Linked DNA regions of Homo sapiens: regions 1 and 3 are each linked to region 2. Evidence: promoter capture Hi-C in 16 types of primary human blood cells and fetal thymus (Javierre and others, 2016). All regions are on one chromosome and are shown on one strand. Each heading gives the region's core, a stretch centred on a gene start or on the middle of the fragment in contact. The rest is flanking DNA. Distances are from core to core; before and after follow the strand shown. Region 1 overlaps DYNC1H1 (dynein cytoplasmic 1 heavy chain 1). Region 2 holds the start of MOK (MOK protein kinase). Region 3 overlaps PPP2R5C (protein phosphatase 2 regulatory subunit B'gamma).

What was found. Contacts are between HindIII fragments. The CHiCAGO score rates a contact against its expected background, and 5 or more counts as called.
Region 1: a fragment that was not itself captured here is called in contact with the fragment with the promoter of MOK in region 2 in 1 of 17 cell types (naive B cells); the score reaches 5.5 in naive B cells.
Region 3: a contact is called between a fragment that was not itself captured here and the fragment with the promoter of MOK in region 2, in 1 of 17 cell types (naive B cells). The highest score is 5.9, in naive B cells.

Annotation. Positions count from the first base shown.
Region 1 is chr14:101,991,922-101,996,591 of GRCh38, reverse strand. It overlaps DYNC1H1 (dynein cytoplasmic 1 heavy chain 1), which reads right to left. Exons shown (of 78, transcript NM_001376.5): 12 at 2,268-2,408; 13 at 1,743-1,919; 14 at 1,496-1,606; 15 at 1,292-1,411. Among named protein-coding and RNA genes, the nearest start is that of DYNC1H1, 30 kb to the right of the region's middle. RefSeq lists an enhancer at 3,469-3,608. The HindIII fragment of the contact is 8,132 bases long and covers 1-4,670 here.
Region 2 is chr14:102,303,570-102,307,895 of GRCh38, reverse strand. It overlaps MOK (MOK protein kinase), which reads left to right and starts at 2,732. Exons shown (of 12, transcript NM_014226.3): 1 at 2,732-2,934. The coding sequence starts at 2,928. RefSeq lists enhancers at 2,513-2,562, 2,329-2,851. The HindIII fragment of the contact is 4,511 bases long and covers 1-3,134 here.
Region 3 is chr14:101,831,551-101,836,088 of GRCh38, reverse strand. The region is part of intron 3 of PPP2R5C (protein phosphatase 2 regulatory subunit B'gamma); the gene reads right to left. Among named protein-coding and RNA genes, the nearest start is that of PPP2R5C, 72 kb to the right of the region's middle. RefSeq lists an enhancer at 2,874-3,374. The HindIII fragment of the contact is 5,116 bases long and covers 1-4,538 here.

The DNA of each region.
Region 1 (4,670 bases), core at 1,827-4,326, 310 kb after region 2:
CATCCATCCTAAGACATCGTGGCCAGAGGGCAACATCCTCTGAGAGCCCACCGCAGCTGGTCTGGGTGTTGCACTGCACTGCATCCGGATGGCCCCGGACAGGATACAAAGCAAGGTGGAGCTGGGCTTCACCCTTTATTCCAAGTTATTAAAAGGATACTTGGCCGGGCATGGTGGCTCATGCCTGTAATCCCAGCACTTTGGGAGGTCAAGGCGGGCAGATCACTTGAGGCCAGGAGTTCGAGACCACCCTGGCCAACAAGGAGAAACCCCGTCTCTGCTAAAAATACAAAAATTAGCCGGGCATGGTGGTGGGCGCCTGTAATTCCAGCTACTCGGGAGGCTGAGGCAGGAGAATCGCTTGAACCTAGGAGGCAGAGGCTGCAGTGAGCCGAGATCACACCACTGTACCCCAACCTGGGTGACAGAGCGAGACTCCATCTCAAAAAAAAAAAAGAAAAGAAAAGAAAAGAAAAACCTAGATGCCCAGTATCTGCACTGAGTTTTTCATTATTTATTTAGTTTTTTGAGATAGAGTCTTGCTCTGTCACCCAGGCTGGAGTGCAGTGGCACAATCTCAGCTCACTGCAACCTCCGCCTCCCAGCTTCAAGCGATTCTCCTGCCTCAGCCTCCCGAGTAGCTGGGACTACAGGCACATGCCACCACACTCAGGTAATTTTTTGTATATTTTTTGTAGAGATGGGGTTTCACTATGTTGGCCAGGCTGGTCTCAAACTCCTGACTTCAGGTGATCTGCCCACCTTGGCCTCCCAAAGTTCTGGGATTACAGGCATGAGCCACCGTGCCTGGCCTACACTAAGTTTTAACAAGCACATCAGGCTGTTGTAACAGAGATGATCTGTGGGCCATACTAAGAAAAGAGTGCCTTAAGGGTTGAGTCAGGTCATTCTCTTAGAATGCAAAATACTATAGAAGCCAAATTAAACTAGAGATCTAGTGTAATTTTTTTTTTTTTTTTTGAGACGGAGTCTCACTCTGTTGCCCAGGCTGGAATGCAGTGGCACAATTTCGGCTCACTGCAAGCTCTGCCTCCCGGGTTCATGCCATTCTCCTGCCTCAGCCTCCTGAGTAGCTGGGACCACAGGTACCCGCCACCACACCCGGCTAATTTTTTGTATTTTTAGTAGAGACAGCATTTCACCGTGTTAGCCAGGATGGTCTCGATCTCCTGACCTCGTGATCCGCCCGCCTCGGCCTCCCAAAGTGCTGGGATTACAGGCGTGAGCCACCACGCCCAGCCAAAAATTTTTAAATATGCACAGAGCTCACCTCAACTTGCTTCTCAAACTGCTTGATCTTCCGTTTCAAAGACTGCACATAGGTGATGAAGGTCACTGCATCGGAGGTGCTGGCCGTGTCTACTGAGTGCTGCTCCAACTCTTGGCGGGACTGTTCAGAGAGAGGGGAGTATTTCATCACAGAGCTGGGGTTCACCAGTAGACCGGTTACAGAGGCAGAATCCTATGTCCTCACCTTTGAGATCTGGGAATGGAATTCCGTCATGTTTGATCCTAGCATCTGCCCAAATTTGCTAAGAACCTCCTTATGCCAAGAGTCATATTTCAAGTTCACCTTAGATTGTACCTGAGGGTGAAATAGCACACAACACATCATCAGCTCTTTCCTGCTGGCGTGTTTATCCTTCAAATGAATATCAGTCTAACAGAAATGTTGCTTTTACACTACCCGTGACACCTTTCAACCAGACAGCAGGGCTCACCTTGCCATAATCTATAACTACTGGTCCAAACTCTTTCTTGGTTTCTGCATTGTCAAAGGTTCCTCTGGCCTTCCTTATTTGGACCAGGAGAGCCTGCCATTTGTTGAGATCTTCTCCAAGTCTGTTATAGATGTTTTCAGCTTGCATATCCCATAAACACTGATACTGAAGCCAAACCTGCAAATGAAGAACACAGTTAAATAATAGTTTGAGTTTTCATTTTGTAGAATACTGGCACCTCTTATGTTCACATTCCATTAAGAAGGTTCATGTCTTTCACCACTATTAGAGAAATTCTCACTTCAGACTCTCAGAATTTTCATATCAAAAAAGATTCTTGAACGTCATGGTTAAAACTCAAAAAGATGTATCCTATCATTTACTCTCTGCTTTGAAACAGCAAATAGTATCTAGTGAACCATACATACAGTCAAGACCTTTTAGCTCCATGTTCTTTATATCTTGTACTCTTAAGTGTCTAGAATAGACCATATGCACATTTGAATGAAATTAGGAGTTTCTTACCTTGACATACTGTTCAACTTCAGATACAATGCCCATGACAGCAGAATACGACTCTTCCAGGGCAACAGGGCCATCAGGCATCCGTGTTAAAGCATTCCGATAGAATTTCTCTTCCTCAGTCAATTCGTAATGTACACCCACCTAGCCAACCAAAGCCGAAATGAATGCAAGCAGTGTATATGAAAATGGTAATCTAAGTGTCACCTTTTACTTAATTAAAATGAACTGAAAGAAAAGCTCATGACCAAAATGGCATTTAAGGGATAACATCCACTTACCCTGGCCACAAGTAACCAGAAAGCCTACTTATATTTAACTCATCAAACCAATACAAGAACATTAATGACAACAGAGAAATTTGGCAATGCAAAAACAGCTGAAAAGTGCACGAAGCCATTTGCTCATTTTAACTATCTGAGTGCCTGTTATGTGCCAGGCACTGTTCTAGGTACAACAAGCAGATAAAAATCCCTGCTCACAGGGACTTACACTCTATGGGAGGAGAGACGCGATTAGGGAATAAGCAAAACACACAGAATGTCAGGTGGTGAGAGAGAACTACGGAGCAAGAGTGAGAAGGAGAGGGAGTGTGGGCACAGCATGGGGAAGGCTGCATTTTCAGTAATGACGTCAGGAAAGGCCTTGCTGAGAAGGGGAGAATTGCGAGAAACCAGGAGGAGAGGGGTAAGTTGTGATTATTTGCCATCAAGGATTCTGAGTTGAGATCAACAAATGTGAAGGCGCAGGGGCAAGAGTCTACCGGCATGTTTGAGGACCAGCAAGACTCCAGTGTGATGGGGCAGAGCCAGTGAAGGGAGAAGCAGCAGGAGCTGAAGTCAGAGAAATAATAAGCAACACATTACACGGGCCCAGCAAGCCACTGGGGCTTTGACTTTCATGATGAGTGAGATAGGAAGTCATTCAAGGGCTCCGAAAAGAGTGTCAGGATTGACTTAGAATCTAAAACTTGCTTTGGCTGCTGTGTTGAAAACAGATTTTAGGGAGGCAAAGGCAGAGAGAACAGATAGGAGGGAATATTAATAATCCAAGTGAGAGGTGATGGTACCTTGTACGGAGTGGTGCCAGTGAAACAGCTCAGCATTCATTTTCAAGAGACACACAATGGGAATCAAGGACAATACCATGATTTTTGGCCTGAATGAGCTGAAGGATGAGAAGTGAAAGACTGAGGGAAGATCAAACTTGGGGAGGCAGGGCTCAAGAGGTGCTCAGTGTGACGCGACTCCGAGATAGCCAAGTGGAGATGCCATGCTAGTAGCTGCCCAGACAAGCCTGGAGTAGGGAGAAAGGTCAGCTGGAGATACGAACACAGAGCTGTCAGCCTGCAGGTGGCATTTAAAGTCAACAAGACTAGATGAGACCACAATGAGAGTGCACAGGAGTGGAGAGGGAACAGAACATTTAGAGGGAGTTTAAGGGGAAGGCAAAAGAGGAACCGAGAAAGGAGACCAGCCACTGAGGTGGGAGGAGAACCAGGAGGCACGGTGTTCTGAAGAGTCCAGAGCATCACGCAGGAGGGAGCCTCCATCAAGTCTTGCAGTTAAGAGGTGAGACAAGGACAGAGAAGCCCCCTAGTCAGCAGGGTGGGGCTATGGGCGATCACACAGAGCAGTGCTGGAGGAGGCTGGATGAGTGCCTGAGAAGGGAGCTTCCTTATGAAGATTGCAGGGGACATGGGGTCCCGTTTAGGTGCTGAAAGAAGACCCAGAAGAGAGGGCAGAACAGCTAAACGAGAGTGAGGGGATGGGCTCTAGGGAAAAAGGAGACTGCTGGCTTTAGTTTGTTAAATTTGGAGATAAGCAAGAGAACAATGCAAATAGAAACACGGCTGGTTAAAAACAGGAGTAACATGATGAGAATGATGCTAAGGATTGTACGTAGACTCCTTGAAGGGCAGAAGCCAATATCCATAGCTTGGTTCTGATTAGCTGGACAGTGCCCAGCATTAGGTGAAACATCACCACGATTTTAGCCATAGGCAATTAACTACCTCAAAAAAAATCCTTAAAGATCTGAGTTTATATTCAAAGTTAAGAAAACGGTTAATGTCTTATCACTAAATTCTGGAAGAGTCTGCAATAGCAGAAGTTGTGCCATCTTTTTTTATGAAGCCACTGGTTCTGTTCAGAAGTGACACTGGGGACTAAATGGTCTTTTGAGATTTCCTTTTGTTCTAAAAATATACTAAGAGTATATTATATCTGAGATTTGCTTCAAGATAATCTGGTGGGGGTGGAGAGGTAGGAAAGAAAATATAAATAACATTGTCCACATATTGATAAAGCTGTGTGGTGGGGGGCTCTTGATTCCCTCAACTTTTGTGTATGTTTTAAAATTCCCCTAATAAAAAGTGGGGGGTGGGGAGGAGAGGGAGAAGCAGGA
Region 2 (4,326 bases), core at 1,483-3,982:
ATGAAGGGAAGAAGAAAATCCATCAGCACCTGGTGAATTGGGAAACAATGGGGCTCTCACTTGCTAAATGCATTCACCTGTTCACTTATTTAATACACTCTGCCCTGCAGGGTAGAGAAAAGACACATGAGGGGCCCAAGGAACTTAGAACCCACCTGGTTAGAAGAAACTAACAAGCAAGAGACAGGGTTAGAAATATAAATGTGACATAAGGGCAAGCCCCCAAATAAGAAAGAACACAAGAAGAGAAGAAGGGATAGATCAAATCCTAGTGGTCTGGAGAGATTAGATGTGGCTTCTCAAAGCCAACAAAGATAGCACCACCAACAATAATACACCAGCAATAATCGCTATTTATTTTTTCAACTTTTTTATTGAGAGAAAATTTACATAAAATTCACCATTGTAACCATTTATTTATTTATTATTTTTTGAGATGGAGTCTTGCTCTGTCGCCCAGACTGGAGTGTAGTGGCAGGATCTCGACTCACTGTAGCCTCCACCTCCTGGGTTCAAGTGATTCTCCCGCCTCAGCCTCCTGAGTAGCTGGGATTACAGGAGCGCATCACCACACCTGGCTAATTTTTGTATTTTTAGTAGTGACAGGGTTTCACCATGTTGGTTGGCCAGCTGGTCTCGAATTCCTGACCTCAGTTGGTCCATCCTCCTCGGCCTCCCAAAGTGCTGGGATTATAGGTGTGAGCCACCACGCCTGGCTTGTTTTGTATTTTATTTATGTATTTGCTTTTTTAGACGGAGTCTCACTCTGTCGCCCAGGCTGGAGTGCAGTGGCGCAATCTCGGCTCACTGCAACCTCCGCCTCCCGGGTTCAAGCAATTCTCTGCCTCAGCCTCCCGAGTAGCTGGGATTACAGGTGCCTGCCACCACACCCGGCTCATTTTTCTATTTTCAGTAGAGATGGGGTTTCACCATCTTGGCCAGGCTAGTCTTGAACTCCTGACCTGGGGATCCACCCGCCTTGGCCTCCCAAAGTGCTGGGATTACAGGCATCAGCCACTGTGCCCAGCCGTTTTGTATTTTTTTAGTAGAGACGGGGTTTCCCCCATGTTGGCCAGGCTGGTCTCGAACTCCTGGACTCAAGTGATCTGCCTGCCTCGGCCGCCCAACGTGCTGGGATTGCAGGTGTGAGCCACCGCGACCGGCCGCTTTCTCTTTCTTTCGAGACAAGGTCTTGCTTTGTCACCCAGGCTAGAGTGCAGTGGTGCTATCATAGCTCACTGAGCCTAGAACTCCTGGTCTCAAGATACCTCCGCCTTATTCTCCTGAATAGCTGGGTTTACAGGCATGTGCCACCGTGCCCGGCTTTTTTTTTTTTTTTTTTTTTTTTTTGAGTCTCTTGCTCTGTCGCCCAGGCTGCAGTGCAGGTGGTGCAATCTCGGCTCACTGCAAGCTCCGCCTCCAGGGTTCACGCCATTCTCCTGCCTCAGCCCCCGGAGTAGCTGGAACTATAGCGCCCGCCACTACGCCCGGCTAATTTTTTTTGTATTTTTAGTAGAGATGGGGTTTCACCGTGTTAGCCAGGATGGTCTCGATTTCCTGACCTCGTGATCTGCCCGCCTTGGCCTCCCAAAGTGCTGGGATTACAGGCGTGAGCCACCACGCCCGGAGTTTTTTTTTTTTTTTTTTTAAGAGGGAAGTGGGGTTTCTCTATGTTGCCCAGGCTGGTCTTGAATTTCTGGCCTCAAGCGATCCTCTTGCCTCGGCCTTCCAAAGTGCTGGGATTACAGGTGTGAGCCACCACACCTGGCCAATTCAGTCTTAAACCAATTTTCTGAGGCTTCGTTTTGGCAAGGCTACTTATCTGTTTTAAAAATAAACGATGTATTTTAGTAAAAGAAAAAAAATGGAGGAAAAAACAGGGTTTTGATCTCATGGAATAATTATGAGGCTAATCTAATGAGCTTCATAAAATACTATACCCATACATAGTATGCTTGTTATTTTATTGTTTTGTCAGGGTCCAGAGAACTAGGCCACTGTGTTGCTTAGGCACCGTGTCTGCACATAGTTCATTCCGGTGTACATTCATTCATCTTTACACTAGAATGTTAGTTTCAAGAACTCAGTCACCTCGTCTACACTGTCCTTTAATCCCCAATACCTGCGACAGTTCCTGGGGCAAAAACAAATGCTTGTTGAATTAAAAAGAAAAACTGGGCCGGGCGTGGTGGCTCACGCCTGTAATCCCAGCACTTCGGGAGGCCGAGGCAGGCGGATCACCTGAGGTCAGGAGTTCGAGACCAGCCTAACATGGTGAAACCCCGTCTCTACTAAAAATACAAAAACATTAGCCGGGTGTAGTGGTGGGTGCCTGTAATCCCAGCTACTTGGGAGGCTGAGGCAGGAGAATCGCTTGAAGCCGGGAGGCGGAGGTTGCAGTGAGCCGAGATCACGCCATTGCACCCCAACCTGGGTAACAGAGCGACACTCTGTCTCAAAAAAAAAAAAAAATTCCTGTAGAAGCTCCCAAGCCCAATTAAAGCTCAAGGCTATCGTCCACGTAGTGGGTTCCAAATCGCTAAGTTCCCAGGCCAGCAGGGAGAGCGAGCCGAGCGAAGGTCGCCTGTGTCAAAGGCGGGGATTTGCACAGTATTTACATGGAAGCGGAGGAAAGGCTGCTTAGCAACCGGGCTGAGGGGACGGGCTGCACTGCGCACGCGTACATGGGCGGGGCATCTTGCGCATGCGCAGGCGACAGCTCATGGCGTTCAGGGCCTGACGGTTGCTAGGGTGACAGGGACACAACATGGCGGCGGGATCTCTAACGCTCTCCTTCGAGGGACCACCACGGAGATCCTAGTGCGGGACCCCGCCTCAGGGAAGTGGAAAGCAGGGGGACAACCTTCCTGCTTCTTTCTTTTCCGTCCAGTGTCGGCAAGGGGTTGTCACCGGCTTCCGCATCCAAGATGAAGAGTGAGTGGGGCCGGGGAAAGGGGCAGGGACTGGAGAGCGAGTGGCGGGGGAGGGAGGGACTGGGGGAGCTTGAGGAGCTTGAGGGGCCTGTGGGGCCGGGCGTCGTCGCCTTCTGCCGTGGCTCGACAGGCCCGGGAGGCTCCGCATGTGGGCCCCGAATCCCCCTCGGCTGTGAGAAGCCGGTGCCCCTGGGGGAAGCTTGAGGGGTTGGGGCTAGGTTGGGAACTTTGGGGTCTCGGAGAGCCGACTCGAGTTCCCGCTCAGGCATATTTTGGTGCAGGTGCGTGGTTCTTACATTGGAGTTTAGGGAGTTGACTGTGATTCATTTTATTTTATTTTAAATGCTGGCTTGAACCTGACACTCTTTTCCTGAACATTCGGCAGAAAACGGGGGAGCGCTTACAGCGTGGCTCCCTGCCTTTTCATGATACTGGTTTAGTGACCAATTGAGAGGAAAGCTGGGCTGTGTGCTTTATTTTATTTTTTGGGTCAAGCAGTAGTGTTTTATAGGAACCACTTTTTAATAGTAGTTTTGAAGCAACCTTTTAGTTAAAAGCTGTTACTTCAAAGTTGGGAAATGAGGTAGTCATTCTAGAAAATGTAACGGGTAAAAAATTTTCTTTAGTGGGATTTGTGGATTATTGACAATCCAAGTGCAACCAGCTAGAATGATGTTTTTAAAATTATTATTACTGTACAGATATAATTGTTTATGGTTGTGAACCAGAGGTGCAGTAAAAATTCAGACCTTTGCTGTGAAAATATTATGTTAGGAGTAGTTATAATGTTAAATTTGCATTGTATCCTAATTGTCAATGGTGTACATTGCATAACATTTAAAATAATTAATCTCATTCACCCTTTACAAGGCATTTTTATTTTTATTTTATTTTGTTGGATATTGTTTAATGTTTACCTTTTTCATTAATGCACTACAAAGCTGTAGTTAGAATCCAAGGTCTACAAAAGACTTTACACTTTTACTTACAGTGCAGACTATGATACTGCACATATTTTGTACTATATTCATTTTTTTCTTCCCATCTGTTTGTTTTGAAAATTTTCAGATGTACAGGAAAGTTGCAAGAGCAGTACATTGAATATTTATAAACCCGTCCTTCACTTAGCTGCACCATTTTGCCTTATTTTTGTGTGCTCGCTTTCGCTCTGGTGTTTTCTCTCTCCCATTTATGTATTTATTTTCACTGGACCTTTCAAGAGTTAGTTGTAGACTACTAATAATTCACCACTTCTTTCAGCAGTTATCTGCCAAGAACAAGGACATTCTCCTACATCATCACAGTACAAATAACACATTTAGAAAATTTAACAATGATACAATACTCTGATACACAGTCCATATTTCAGTTTTTCCATTTATCCCAATAACAT
Region 3 (4,538 bases), core at 787-3,286, 470 kb after region 2:
AAGTAATTAAAAAAATTTAATTTCCCATTGTATTTTATCTTACTAGTGTTTCCTACTATTTTCACTTTTAATTCTTTTAAGGAATACTAATAGTTCATCATTATTGGGTATTTTCTACATGCTGGTAATATATTACTGTAACTTTTCCCAGCCCACTAATCCTAGTAAGAACACACAGAGGGGCTACCATCATCCCCATTAGATAGACAAGGACAGAGGTCTACAGAGAGGTTAAGGCGACGCTCAGATGGGACCGTGCTGATGCCTGAGCCCAGGCAGGGCAGCTCGGAGCACCTGGTGATCTGCAAGGGCAAGAGGCACCCCGTGAGGGGACGGCTGTGCAGGCGGCGTGGTCCCACACATGCTACTGGTCCCTTACAGGGAGAAGAGTGGTCTCACCGTTCCTGCTCAAGATGAAGACTGTGTCTGTCCCCCGGGAGACCTCAGATGCCTTAACAAGAATATTACTTCTAAGACCTTTAAATTCCTCAATGGAAAAAGCCCGTGAATTGAAATCAATGGTTCCTAATACAAATTTGACATGGGCCAGGTTTCCCATTAGCCAGTATTACAGATGACAAGTGGGAAGGAGCCCTCTGAACAAACGTCTGGGACACTACCTTAACTGCAAGTCTGACTTGATAACATGATCACCAACCAAATACCTGAATCATCAACATTCCCCTCTACTGAGTTCTCTTGAGCACTCAGCTGACTGTAAACTGTGATCCCAGGTGGAAGTCACTGTGGAGTTTAGGCCACGTCAGTTCCTCGGTGTAATGCACCTCCCAGCTCTGTGCCAACACCCTGCCCTGGGCTTCCCTTATCCCAATTCATCCTGCTCCCCCAGCCACAGGACAGCACCACATCTTTGCTTCCTTGGATGGCCCCAGCTGAGCAGCCCATGCTCCCACCGCCATGAGGAGCAGCCCAGTGTCCAGCCTACCAATTCTGGGGTTGCTGGACAGTCGGCTGTGCTGGAATCAGAGACTCCCAGTCCCTGAAGACACAGGCTGCATTTTTTTTTTCCTTACTGTGAATGTGCTTTGAATACACTCCTAAAAAGTAAACAAAACAAAACAAAACACTTCTCCAAGCCACTGGCAAGTAGGCTTGACCCTGCCAAGTAGGTGGAGCAAAGCTAAAGTCTGGCCAGACCTTCTAACCTTCTTCTGAGGCTCTGTGGCCACAGGCCCACCAGCGAGCTGGATATAATCAAGTACCAAGTCAATCTCTGAGATTTGAGGACTTTTTCTCACAGCTTTTTGGCAAAGTCATCTTGGGAGAGGAAAGAGTAGAGGTAGTCAATTAGAGTTGATTTCTGATTTTCCCAGCATGTAATAAAGATCCCCTCCTCTCATCCCCATCCAGACTCCTGATAACCAAATTAATATCTTAATAAATCCTCAGTATGAATGTCCCCAAGCGACTTGACAGGCCTGGGGCTTTAAGCATGCATTCTATGACCTCATAATTTAAAGAGATTTGGAGGCCAGGGCTGGCAACGCACCAGTGAAGTTTCACCCACCAGACACTGAATCTGGGAGGAGAATTTCTCCTTGAGCCATTTCTGCTGGAACAGCTGCCTGATCACAAGAGGAAAATGCCTCCTTAGATTAACTTGCTGGTGGCCTTGTGAGATACCTCAGCAGCCGTACTGAGACGCCACATCAAGGGACCATCTTTAGTTCCATTTTTTGAGAAGACTTTTTGTTTGGCTTGAAGAGGGTCCCCCTGAAGCTGACCCTCAGTGCTGCCGTCACTGCTGCAACCTCAGCACCTCCATGGCCTGCATGTGCAGACAGGAGAACCGGACCCAGTCAAGGTCCCACCAGTTCTGCAGACAAGGGTCTGGAGTCCAAGTAACCACACAGCACACCCTGCTCAAATTCTCAGGGTGACTCTTCACATGGGATATAATCTGTCTTGAATGGATCACATTTGCCACCCAGAGGAAGAGACAATGTCAAAACTGATTCAGGCCGGGTGTGGTGGCTGACGCTTGTAATCCCAGCACTTTGGGAGGCTGAGGCAGGTGGATCACTTGAGGTCAGGAGTTTTGAGACCAGCCTGGCCAACACGGTGAAACCCCATCTCTACAAAAATACAAAAATTAGCCGAGCGTGGTGGCAGGTGGCGGGTGCCTGTAATCCCAGCTACATGGGAGGCTGTGGCAGGAGAATCACTTGAACCCTGGAGGCAGAGGTTGCAGTGAGCTGAGATCGCGCCACTGCACTCCAGCCTGGGTGACAGAGCGAGACTCCGTCTTAAAAACAAAAAATGCCAAAAAAACCCTTGGATTGAATAAAGCTGGGAAGTGAAAACCCCTAGTCATGTTAGGGAATTTCACATGGCCTGTTACCATAATGCCTTGAGAAAACAGTTTTGGAACAGTGAACTGACTCAGCAATTCATCTGGCTGGGGGTGGTGGAAGTCAAGTTTAGGTCCATGTGCTGCTCCCTCATACTGTGTCCTCTCAATGAAATGCATCCTTTACAAAATCGCAAGGGGGTGTGTCTTTGGGGCCAGACAATGAGAGCAAAAAATGAAGGGAAAATTAAGAACAATGGTTTACCCAAGGTGGTGGTTTCTGAAGAATGATCAAACCATATAATTAAACCAATCATTTTAGGTAACTGTGTGATCCTCTAACAACTTCTGCCAAACTTGGAGAGTCTAGGAATCTTTGGTAACCCTATCTTCTTCAAACATTTGACCAATCAGAGCTGGCCAAGACATATCAGGCAAGACTCCTCATTACCAGAACGGCTGGGAAGCTCCACCTCGAATTAAAACCCTGACACCGGCCATGTGAACAGCAGCACCAGTGACCTCTGGCCACGGCTGGCCGAGGGGCGGACCTAGGCGCCCATGTTTTTCCTGGACCACACTCCAGGGCGGCTTGGCGTGAGAGTAAACAACTTGATCAAGGACAAAGTTTTGACCAAGTCAAAGTTTTCCTCCTGAAAACTGAAGCTACTGACGACTTCTCACTAGACGGAACATGGGAAGAATCAGGCAGATCTAATCACTGCCAGTGTGGACATGACTGATTCCAGCACGTTTCAGATGCTGTGCCTAGTGTTCACACTGCAACCTCCCTGACTATCCACAACTGTCCTGTGAGAGAGAAACTGTTATCACTCCCATTTTCCAAATGAAGAACAGCCACTCAACAGTTCAATACTTGCTGGAGGTCCCACAACTGCTAACTGTATTATGTTACTGAGTAAATGCAGAAGAGCATGCAGAGAAATTACACGGTAAAGCGCGGGGAAGAAGGGGCATGACACGCAAAGACTGGGAGTGGCGGGGTGGATGAGGACACAGAGGGGTCACTCACGCTGCTGGAGTCTGGACCCTTCTGCCTCCACAGTCCCGCTCCACCCTGCTCCTCTGTGTGGAGTCCCTCTGTGACTGTGCCTTAAAAACACTTGTCTTCATCTATGCAAGCCCAAGTGTGTCTCCACTGCTTGTAACCCAAGAAAGAGATGGGAAGGTGTCTTCGGAACAGATTCCCCAGGTGGAACCCAGAGTCGCCCACCCTGGGGTTTCCCGTACTTCAGTCCTGCATGAACACCTTCAAGATCGTCACAAATCTGTGTACAGTCAGGCTCTTATTTACTTGGTATTTTGCTTTAAATGGATACACTTTTTACTAAGCCCTGTCCTAAGCAATAATAACCCAAGAAACCATGGATTTGATGTGCTAATTATATATTTTCACATTCATCAATATATAATTATTAAAGTAAAATAATACTCAACTCTGAATCACTTAAAATAACTGCCGTTAGCAGTGGTGTGCACTTGCCACACTTGGAGGAATCCTGGGCTATCTATCCCACAGTACGAAGAAAGAAGATAACAAGAAATCCTCTATTTGGCCTACACTGTAGATTTCTATGTTGACTATTATTGCTGAACAAATCTCCAATGATTACCTGAATGAGGAGCAAGAAAATCACTTTACCTCTGTTGTTCTGTTCTGCTCCTTTTCATTATGAGGACATACAGACCACTTGCTCTCAGCCTTTGCTGATCCCCTGCTAGTCTTTGGTTCTACAAATGCAATACTATTTAGAAGCTCAGGGTTAGAATCTTTCCATGGTTCCAAGGCTATCCATGGGTTCTTTTTTAAGTTTTGCCTTCAAAGCTGTATCATAATATTGCTGCTTAAATAACAATGTCTTTGGACAAGTTAAACTCAACTTTAAAGCCAATGTAAGTAACAGACTACAGTGGTCCATGTTGGGGATTGCTTCTAGGACCACCACGCTTACCCAAATCCACGCATATTCAAGTCCCACAGTCGGCCCGCAGAACCCGTGCGTATGAAAAGTTGGCCCTCTGTATACATAGGTCTCGAATCTTGTGCATTTGCAATCTGCATTTGGTTGAAAAAAATCCACATATAAGTGGACCTGTGCAGTTCAAACTTGTGACGTTCAAGGGTCAACTGTAATTCTTGTACTTATTTAAGGAATGTACTATGATAAGGAGTTGTGTCCCATCTTACAACTCAGACAGGATGATA